3 separate regions of the Homo sapiens genome follow, and all the other regions are linked to region 2. The links are contacts of gene promoters, found by promoter capture Hi-C in human tissues and cell types (Jung and others, 2019). All regions are on one chromosome and are shown on one strand. The core of a region is centred on a gene start or on the middle of the fragment in contact, and the rest is flanking DNA. Distances in the headings are between cores, read along the strand shown. Region 1 has its middle 79 kb from the start of TRMT11. Region 2 holds the start of RSPO3 (R-spondin 3). Region 3 has its middle 130 kb from the start of TRMT11.

What was found. The method cuts DNA at HindIII sites, captures the fragments that hold promoters and counts their contacts. A contact is called where the count stands out against the background at its distance.
Region 1: a fragment that was not itself captured here is called in contact with the fragment with the promoter of RSPO3 in region 2 in 1 of the 25 tissues and cell types used here (mesendoderm cells).
Region 3: a contact is called between a fragment that was not itself captured here and the fragment with the promoter of RSPO3 in region 2, in 1 of the 25 tissues and cell types used here (H1 embryonic stem cells).

Annotation. Positions count from the first base shown.
Region 1 is chr6:126,063,728-126,067,372 of GRCh38, forward strand. It overlaps a transcript of TRMT11 not described here. Among named protein-coding and RNA genes, the nearest start is that of TRMT11, 79 kb to the left of the region's middle. The HindIII fragment of the contact is 7,363 bases long and covers 1-3,645 here.
Region 2 is chr6:127,117,249-127,120,680 of GRCh38, forward strand. It overlaps RSPO3 (R-spondin 3), which reads left to right and starts at 1,423. Exons shown (of 5, transcript NM_032784.5): 1 at 1,423-2,041. The coding sequence starts at 1,945. LOC105377989 (a long non-coding RNA gene) reads right to left here. Exons shown (of 14, transcript XR_002956387.2): 4 at 1,653-3,432. The HindIII fragment of the contact is 6,946 bases long and covers 1-3,432 here.
Region 3 is chr6:126,110,843-126,114,403 of GRCh38, forward strand. It overlaps a transcript of TRMT11 not described here. Among named protein-coding and RNA genes, the nearest start is that of TRMT11, 130 kb to the left of the region's middle. The HindIII fragment of the contact is 3,828 bases long and covers 1-3,181 here.

The DNA.
Region 1 (3,645 bases), core at 439-2,938, 1.1 Mb before region 2:
AGACAGAAGTTGTCATTCCTAATGACTTTGTAAATCACTCTGAGCCATGGAAAAATAAACAATCGGTGAGCAAAAGCTTTTACAGCCCAGGGTAGAAATCTGGGAGGATCCGAGCCTTCTGGGTCTGAAGCTTGAATGTGTCATCAGAGTGGGACTGGGGTCGGAGATCTAGGAGCAAGAGTGAGGCATGGGATGTTGGATCAAAACAGGGAAGTGGGCCGAGGAAGGACCACAGGAGGAGCAAGGCCATGTCACTGATGTTGCTGTGTCCTGCAATATGATTTGGCATCTTACATTTCTGAAGCTGCCATTGCAGGGTTCCTTCAGTCAGTGGATTAGAAGGAGCTAGAGGTTGGCAACCTTTGGTGAGGAGAAGTTAGGAGAATGGTGGGTCGTGAGCACTGGGGGAGGGAGGGAGAAGATGGGGGTGAGCTCTGAGTGTTGGTTCTGACTCATGAGCAAAGGTGGGCATGGGGTGGAGGGAGAAAGCGCACATGCAACAATTTGGGACCCTTGACCTCTGATGTGTCTGAGGGCAGCCCACGTGTCTCTGAAAATCTGCCTGTGAGATGACCGATACCCTGGATTAAACCACAGCTCTGTGGACCCCTTTAAGCACTTGTAAACAGCTCCAGAAGGATTAGTACCTTCTATTCTCAAAACAGGATTCAAATAAATGTAATACACAGCTGCTGGGGTAGCCAAGAGCCTTGGGCTCCTGGATTGAGGCTGTGTAAGGGTAAGTGAGGCAGGAGCTATTAGATCACATTTCCTGACTGACTTGCATTCTGAACTGGAAAGACAGTCTCACAGGAAAAAATTAATTTGCCTCCAAGATAAAAAAAAAAGTCACCACGAAAGATTAGAGACAATTTTGAAACTGTATTTAATAACCATGACAATTTATGGCAAGATAAAAACGCCCAAACCATAAAGTGCAAATACCAGGTCAGACACAGGGTTTCTGTAGGCCAAAAAAAATCATGTAAGTTAGGCCCAGATTCATTGAAAAGGAAGGAGACAGCTCTTAGGCTGCAGATTTATCCTAAGGTCAATGTTTACTTTAAAAATCTGTGATAATTTGTTCCACCCAGAGGTGGTTTTTGTTTTATGTTCCACATCTTAATCATTTGTTTAGCAGCCTTGTTTTATGTTTGTTTAGTTAGAACCTTCTGGTGTGGAGCAAGGATCATTAAAAAGTATAATTAGCTGTAATTACTTAATACTAGAACAGAAACTGCTTTTACTTTAGATGTGTGAGCTGATCCCCCAGGCAGCGTTGGTGATCCTGCTTTGAGTCTAGGAGCATTTCCATTCACAGCTGAGTCCTTATCAGCAGAAGTGTATAGAGCCACCGGATAATATCTCACTCACAAAACGTGAACCATTTGCCTATGAAAATGAGAGCTAAAAAACCAGAGAACTGAATATGAAACTTTTTCTTTTATTGTTAGGTATATAGTTCAACAAGTCTACCTACTAAAAAGGGAATATGTTAGCTAGAGTAGTGTAAAGGAGAGAAGATAATTGGTCAAATAATCTTGTTCTTCTATCACGTGTCCACTGCTGGAGAACTCCTGCCACGATGACGAGGCAGGGCTGGAGTGGGAGCTGAGTCCTGCAGGCTGAGAGGCAACCACAGAGAGCCACGCCTTCAGGCAGCATGTAGGATACCCTCTTCGTGTTTCACTCACTGGTAGTGACCTGCTTTTGGTACATCTGGAGATTTCAAACTTCAAAACCTTATAACCTACACTTTAATTCTGGGGAACTGCTGGCTAAAGTTTGTGGTTAAGCAACCTTGGTTCATTTCTTGACTCCTTCATTCATTAATTATTATGATCTTGAGAAAATGACAGTTTCTCTGTGCCTCAGTTTTCTTAATTGTGAAATGGGAATAATAGAAGTACTTGTCTCCTAGGATTGTGGGAAGAATTATAAAATGAATACTTGCAAAGTATTTAAAACAGTGCCTGATACATAGCAAGTACTCAATAGATAATAACAGAAATTATATTATTACTATTCTTTAGCTGTATACTCTTGGGCAAGTTGCTTTGTTTCTCTGATGTTGTCCTTCAGACGAGATTGGGAGCGTTGAGGGTGGTATGACTGTAGACTGAAGTTGTCCTTCACGTGTACAATGAAAATAATAGTACCTATCGTGAATTTATCATGATCATAAAAGGACCGTTGCTGAGACAGATGCTCAGACTATAGAAAACCGGAGCTCAAATGCTGCTAGACAAAGATGGGAATATCCTCGGTGCCTGCATAGCTATTTACATTTGCATGGGAGCAGAGGCTTCTTAGGGAAAGGCACTAGGGTTCAGACCCTTTCCTTTGTTTGACGGTTGGAGGGAGCAATGATCAAGGCTGGATTGTGAAAGTAGGGGAGCAAGGAAACCCTCTAGAAGAAACTCACTTTGAGCGCCAGGACCAAAGCTGACCTCTGCCTCCAGGCCAGGGTGTGGCTGGATCCTGTGGGGTCAGAACTCATCCTGTCTGGGCCTGGCTGTGAGTGAATCACAAGTCCAGGCCCTTTGGGTGTGGCCTTACATGGACTGTCACTCAGTTTGGGCTGCCATAACAGAATACTATGGACCAAGTGACATCAACAACAAATACCCATTCCTTACCGTTCTAGAAGCTGGACGTCCAAGATCAGGATGCCAGCATGGCTGAGTTCTTGGGAAGGGCGCTCTTTGTTATGTCCTCATATGGCCTTTCTTGGTGCATGTATGTATGTCGAGAGGGAAGATGGGAGAGGGAGCTCTAACCTGTTTCTCTTCTCACAGGGACGCTAATCCTATCATGGGGGCCCCACCCTCATGACCTCATTTAACTCTCAAAAGCCCCACCTCTGAAACCATCCCACTGGGGGTTGGGGTTTTAACATAAATTTTGGGGAGACACAATTATATAGTCTGTAACACGGACTGAGTTATAACCCTGTAGTCAGGATACTCCATTCCTTTGCCTAGAGATGCTTGTAAGCCCTAGGTGAATTGTTACACTTGTCCTGAGGGCAGGGCAGTGGACAAGTCACATGGCTTATCAGTGATGAGGCTTGGGGGGTGCCATCCACCCAGCCAGCCAGGACATTGGTGTCTGGATTTTAGCCACAGTGAAAAACAAGGGTGAATTGCTTAATGGCTGCAATGCTGGGCAACTGACCAACTTCATTCATGACTTAAAAAAAAAAAAAAAATAAGGGCCGGGCACAGTGGCTCACGCCTGTAATCCCAGCACTTCTGTAGGCCAAGCCGAGGCAGGCGGATCATGAGGTCAGGAGTTTGAGACCAGCCTGACCAACATGGTGAAACCCTGTCTCTAATAAAAATACAAAAGTTAGCCAGTTATGGTGGTGTGCGCCTGTAATCACAGCTATTCAGGAGGCTGAGGCAGGAGAATTGCTGCCGAGACTGTGCCATTGCACTCCAGCCTGGGCGACAGAGTGAGACTCCTTCTCAAAAAAAAAAAAAAAAAGTTGTTTTGCCAGTAAAATGCATAAAATATGCCTATTGCTCAATAAATTGTCACAAAGTTAACCTCATGTAATCACCACTTAGATCAAGAAATAGAATACAGTATTGCCAAAGTGCTACTTCAGAATCACCTCTGTGCCTTCTAAGTGTAAGCAAT
Region 2 (3,432 bases), core at 173-2,672:
AAGTTCATCGGCTGGTGCTACCGGAGAAAAGACGTGGAAAGCTCACCATTTACTAACGACAGCCAGGGTGTGCCCCACTCAGGGGTGCCGGCCCTCTGTTCTCCCATCCCTGGGTGGGCCAGAGCATCTTACTCTCTGCTGCCTTGGGCCTCCACTTGGGCTGGGAAGATAAGAAAGTAGTGGACCTTCCCCTTCCTTCCCCAAGACTGGGAAAATCTTTCCAAATCTTATTCCCAGTCTTCCAGATGCGAGATTAGAATGTACAACAGATCCTCTCAAGAACACTGGGAGACCGAGGGTGGGAGAGAAAACTCCAAGGGGGGCGAGCTGACTATAGAGGGAATTGCCTGAGCGGGAAAGGAATCTTCCAAAGCCACAGAAAAGCCTTGGTTTGGAAGAAAGCCGTAGCACAGCTGCATTTCCAACGGGAAGGTCCTGAGCGCACACACTTCTGGGTCCTCCCCGCTCGGAGCAGGTAAACCTCAGAGTAGCTGACCGGCAGCACCCACAGAGTTTCCTCCCCACCACCCGCCTGGCGACCAACTGCAGCCGAAAAGAAAGAAAGAAAGGAAAGAAAGAAAGAAAGAAGAAGGAAGGAAGGAAGGAAGGAAGGAAGGAAGGAAGGAAGGAAAGAAAGAAAGAAAGACAAAGAAAGAGGAAGGAAGAAAGAAAGAAAAGAAAGAAAGAGAAAGAAAGAAAGAAAGAAAGAAAGAAAGAAAGAAAGAAAGAAAGAAAGAAAGAAAGAAAGAAAGAAAGAAAGAGAGAGAAAAAGAAAAAGGGAGAAAGGCAACAGAGGAGAAGGTCAGGAAAGCCGGGAACAAGTCAGCAGCCAGAAACTCTCCAGCGATCTGCCAAGGGGGAGAGGGTAGTTGCGCGCCGGCGCTGGGGATGGGGTGGGGGCGCTGGGGCACAAGGGCGCAGGGGCGCACGGCCACCGACAGCCGGGTGCGCCTAGCTTGAGGCCGCGGAGAGGAGCCGAACTGGGATGGGTGGGGGGTCTTCGGCCTCAACACTGCCTGCCAGCCCCAGTGCGCCCAAGTCTCCCCGCCAGAGCTGCCCTTCTGGAGGGGCTCTTCGCACGCACTGCTTTCCCCATTCTTCTGGCTGGAATTCTCCGGCCGTCACTGCAGTGTCCAGAGATGCTGCGCTGTAGACCCGGGACCCCTTAGGCGCCTCTTCCCGTCCCTCTGCCAAAGCGCAACGCCTGTACTTTTCCAGCTCCCTCTTTCCCTCTTGAAATTGAAAGTTATTGAGGTCGCTCAGGGTTGTTGCTCCAGCAGTTTCCTTCCCCGCCCCCGAGCTCCCCCCCGCCCCCCACAGCCATCCCCCCTCCTCTCCCCCTCCCTGCCCTCCTCTCCCTCCCCCCTCCCTGCCCTCCTCCTCCTCCTCCCCTATGTGGTGCTCCCGGGAGCCCAGCCCAACACTGGAGCGTCTCCTGCTCGCGCACGCCAGAAGCAGCTCGGGGTCTCTCCGCCGCCCCTTGGCCATGGCCGCTGTGCCGACGGCGCCCGCTCCCCTGCGCTCCAGGGGCCCCCGCCGCTGCAGCCGCAGCCGCCGCAGCTTCTGAGCCCAAGGGGCCGCCGCTGCAGCCGCCGCCGCCGCCGCTCGCCCGCCCGGATCCCGCCTGCGGCAGTTGCCGCACAACATGCTACCTGCGGCCGCCCCGGCGGCTCCTGGAACCCCGGTTCGCGGCGATGCCAGCCACCCCAGCGAAGCCGCCGCAGTTCAGTGCTTGGATAATTTGAAAGTACAATAGTTGGTTTCCCTGTCCACCCGCCCCACTTCGCTTGCCATCACAGCACGCCTATCGGATGTGAGAGGAGAAGTCCCGCTGCTCGGGCACTGTCTATATACGCCTAACACCTACATATATTTTAAAAACATTAAATATAATTAACAATCAAAAGAAAGAGGAGAAAGGAAGGGAAGCATTACTGGGTTACTATGCACTTGCGACTGATTTCTTGGCTTTTTATCATTTTGAACTTTATGGAATACATCGGCAGCCAAAACGCCTCCCGGGGAAGGCGCCAGCGAAGAAGTAAGTGCAGGGTTTTTTACGCGTTTGCTCCCTCCCGCCGCGTTCACCTGTCGGGTCGCTTTGCCTGTCCGGAGCCGGCTCCCAACTGCAGCGGTCCTCCCGCCCTGCGCCTCGCAGAGGAGATGCAGGTTCGGGCTTTGGGGGTATGGACGGCGTCTTTCACCCTTGCCTCTCGGCGCCCCTGCCTTCCGCAGCATCCTAGCCGGTGCGAGGGGCGGGCGGACGCGGCGCTAAGGTGGCTCCCGCCCCATGGTAACTTCAGGTTCGCGGGAAAGTTCGGTCCTGGGTTAGACTCGCACCCGGGATTTGTGCTTTCCTTTTGAGGATCGGACAGGGGCACCCAGCCGAAGGCACTTGGGACTCCCAGACGCAGGATGCCTCTGACCGCTGAGTAAATGACAAGGGAGGCGCGGCCGCGGTACCCGCTCACCTAGCGCAACCGCCTCGCGCGGGGAGACCTCGGCTGGGCCCTTAGGCTGGACTCCGGTAGCCGAACGCCCGCTACCCGGCCAGGAAGCCAGGGAGCGAGCGCCTGCGCGGCCGCATCCCCGACACGCACCAGCGGAGCCAAAGGGCGCGCGAGGCGATGGGGTTCGCGTGTCTGCGCGTTTGCAGAGCTGCCGGACGTCCCCCGCCCGAGGGTTGAAGACAGCAAAACCCCAGCTGTGGGGAGCCGGAGGTGCGGAGTTTCCAGGTTCTCTCTTGTCACATGTGAGCGTCTGTACCATCTCTGGCCCTTTCAAGTGTGTCCCCTGGGACACACACGTACAGAGAGTGGGGTCTCCCTAAAGATTCGCCTCCTCGCTGCCCTTAATGCTGTTATTTGGAGGGTTGGATTGTGATGGCTTCTTAAGACGGTGTCCTAGCTGGAATTAAGCGGACACCACCACGGCAGCCTCAACCTGGGTTGGTCTGTCTGAAAGGTAGAATCTTCCCAAGATGAAGGGACAGATGCGAAGGTGTCACCTCTCCTCGCTCCAGGGTAGCCTGGCGCCCTCGCTGCTCTAGTGTCTGTGTTCCCATGGGGAGTCCTTTCGCAGATCTCAGAGCAGGGGCGACCCTGGCTCTATGGTTGGGGGCGCTGGTGGAGAGAGGGAGGAGGAAACTTCTCCTGGAGCTCGCGAGGGGCAGGAAGCGATGCTGCTGCTCTGGGCTCTCGCACCTCCGCGGCGTGCAGCCCAGGCCCAGCGGCCCCACCTGGTTTCCCAAGGGGATCCCTCTCCCAGCGTCCCGCCCGGGAAGCCTTTCGGGGCAGACGTCGGGGCAGCGCGGAGGACACAACACCGGCTTGTGTGAGATGGAAATTTAGTAATCGCTTCTCGGCCGCTGTTTGTCCCTGCCCTGCCCCTGGGCATGAGGGTCCCCTGAAAGCTCCCTTTGTATTGCTGGCC
Region 3 (3,561 bases), core at 18-2,517, 1.0 Mb before region 2:
CCCTGGACAGACCCTGGAACTAGATGTCAACTCTACTTAGTGGATTTATGTTTGAAATTAGATAGCAAAGCCACAAAATGGAAAAAGATGAGAATACTTCCAAAACAGAAATATTGAATAATGCATTTTCAGAAAAATTAGGTAAGGAGAAAATGAGTTTGACCCAGGCAGTTAGGAATGAAGGATATGGGAGGAGACTTAAATGTCTAGATTAGAGATGGTTTGCAGCCATTTCCAAGAACCCTGGGAGGGACTGCTTGTGCTGCATGATCTAACACTTTAATCCTCTTCTGCCATGGCTCAGACCCCATGGGGTGGAATCTTGATGAGGAGACTCCCTGTCTTGGATAATAATAACAAGCTGTCTTCTCTGTAGGCAAATTTTCAGGTGGAAGTCTCACTCTACCACTCTCATAACCAATGCAACAAATAATCAAGTTCTCAAGCTGCAAGGAAAACTGAGGGGATTATTTTTAAGGATGTAAAGAACATTAAACAATGAAGAGATAGTTTCTCAGAGTAAGTTTTTTCCCTCCTTTGCCAGGTGCCTGATATCATCTTTCTTGTCTACCTTAGACACCCCCCACACTTTTTAATATTAAAAGTCTCTTAATAACAAAAGTAAACAGCATGTTATTTATGGAAACTGCACAACATTAGCTTTGCTAATTACATGGTTACTCACTTTCCCAGCACCAGATCACCTCTTATTTGTTTCCAACTACTGTGGCCACCATGTGTTTTAAGTGTAAGACAGAAATAATAAACTGCAGGTTTCCAGGGTACTCACGTATTATTTCTGCAGTTCACACAGGACATGTACCATCTGGGTTTGAAGGGCACATCATTCCAAGGCGGAATGGAGTGAGTAGGGCTTTCCCAGTAGAGCCACTGACTCTATGGGGAAATTTCAAATGGAGTTTTGGGGTCAGAGAGACCTAAGTTCAGATGCCTGGCACAATAACTTCCCACTTACATGAAATCTTCTTTGCCTTCTCTGTAAGTAACTTCTCTGCCTCTTGGCTTACTGTATATAAATTGGGTATATGATGCCTAATTTCTAGTGTGGCTCTGAATCTTAAATGAGGTGATACAATATGGCACTTGCCGTAAGGTAAGTTATTACTGAATGATGGTCTTAGTTTCTTTCTACTCCATTTCTGTCTCTTCTAAACTCCTAAGAACTAAGCTGAGAAGGCATAAAAGATGACACACAGACCATTCAGCTCAAAATCCAGAATAAGAAGCCCAAACTGGAGTATATTCTGCAGAAGATTTGCTGTCTTAAGGGAGCTACTATTAGCTCAGCTTTAACCCTCCTTCCCATCTCTTTCTGGTTAGTGAACTGGTGCCACCACCTGCCCATTAGAGAACCTGAGCTATTTGTTCAGTGATTCACGTCTCTGGATTCAGCACTGAGCCTGCATAAACTCCCAACTCAGTCAGCAACACTGTGCTAACATCTACTAGGAATGGTTCAGTCCCTGTAGATCTGAGAAATAATTCCTGTGGTTACATCAACTGTTTGGATCTTTGGATCCATAAATTATTTCTGTCTTTTCTTTTTTGAAGGGTTTTCTATTTGAATGCTGTTTTATCTCAAAAGGCAGTTGGTTCCATTCTGACATGGTAGAGATATGAAGCTTCCTTCAACTGACACAGTTTGGCTAGATGCCAGTCAGGAGTACCTCCAAGATATTTTGGCTGTAGGATAAGTTACAGATAGCCTGGCCTTGCCATCTGCAATGATCGGTTGTAGTAATAACAATCTCTGGGTGCACAATTAACCAATTCTGAAAATGTGAAACTTATTAATTATCCTGCATTTTTGCTTGGCTGCTAGCTAACTCTGTCTAGATCCTGTTTCTTGGCATTCTCTCATCTGTCATTTCTACCACAAATCCCCTACAGATCGTTAGTTGCCTATGTTCCTCTACTTCATTGTCTTTCTTTCAGTCATTGACTGTTACTGAGATTTTTTTTTTCATGAAATCAGAGTTTTAGTATTCTTTTTTTATTATAGGGAAAAGAAACCAAGTCTCCTTGAATCAGTTTATCCCAATGTCTTCTGGTTTTCTATGTTGGCTACAGTCAAGATAACCTATTACTAAGGTAGGTTGTGTGTTTCTAGACCACCAAATCTGTTCAATAGACCTTTTTGCATCTGAGTGGACAGGTCCTAGATGACACTGGAGACATAGAGGTGAACTCCCTCCCTGGCCTTCAGGTACTCACATTGCATTTGGGAACCTAGGCATTAAGCAAACAACCATGATACAATGTGCTAAGTGCTATCACTAAAGTATAAACAAAGTGGTTTGAGGGGCGTTATGTTCCCCCATATTGACCTGAAGCTGTAGTATTTTGACTGCTTCTAGAGTACCTGTATGTCTCTGCATGTCCAGGCAGTCTGATTTATTAACAGGGCCCTCTTTTAATCTTGGAGTCTCTATGTGGATGATAAACTGTATGGTCTTTCTATTTATAAATCAAAAACCAATATAGGAGGCTAGTTTAATTTGTGAGCAAATATGTTTCTATTTATTAAGAATTCTTGAGTTGCCTGCCTCTACATTAGTGGTTGAGGCAGTGGAGTGAGTTCCTGATCTGACTCACCTTTCTCACCAACAGTGATACTTGTACTTTAGCATATACATGAGAGACTGAGTTGATTCTATAGCCTAACTGGAATTTATTCATTCCTTCATCCATCTACTCAATGAATCAATTCTACATTTACTGAGCACTGATTGTGTGTCAGCCAATCTACTAGGCACGTGGGATACAGTGATGATCTATATAGATATATCTCTGCCCCCACAGAACTTACAGAGTGGAGCCTCAAAAAGTGATTTCAATTTTATCCATCTGCTTTGTGTCTTCTCTTTAAATCCTTGCTACCCAAAGTAGGCTCTCAATATTAGCAGCATCAGTGTCACCCAGAAGCTTGTTAGAAATGGAGAACTTAGGCCCACCTCACACCTATTGAATCTGAATCTGCAGTTTCAAAAGATCCTCAATAATCTGAGCAGATTCTGATTCAGTTGGTCTAGGGTCTTCACTTCTGACAAACTCGCAGGCAATGTCAATGCTGTTGGTCCATGGATCGCACTTTAAGGGACTTCCCCAGTTCTTTACAAAATGTGGGTTGCAACCCAATAGTGGGTCATGAAATCAATATAGTGAGTTGTAACTAGCACATTCAAAAATATTTTAAAATAGGATAGAGTACACAAACAATTCAGAGTGCATTTCATGTCATGATGAAGGCATTGTTGCATGAAACTTGAATCAGCTTTTTGTACATCTGCACACAGACACAAACACAGATGTATGTAGACTGAGTTCTGATGAAAACGTATTTCTTAATACGGGTCGCAGCTGATAACAGTTTGAAAGTTATTGTTCTAGACAAGCTTATCTAGGCCAGAAAGAAGTCCTCAGAAGTGATTCCAGTCTAGAACAGAGAGCTCAGATCAAAGGGGTTCTGTTAATATTAGAACTATCCAGAATCCCAGTGAGGACATCCAGGAAAAAGTAGAACAGTGGGGCTAGAAAGAT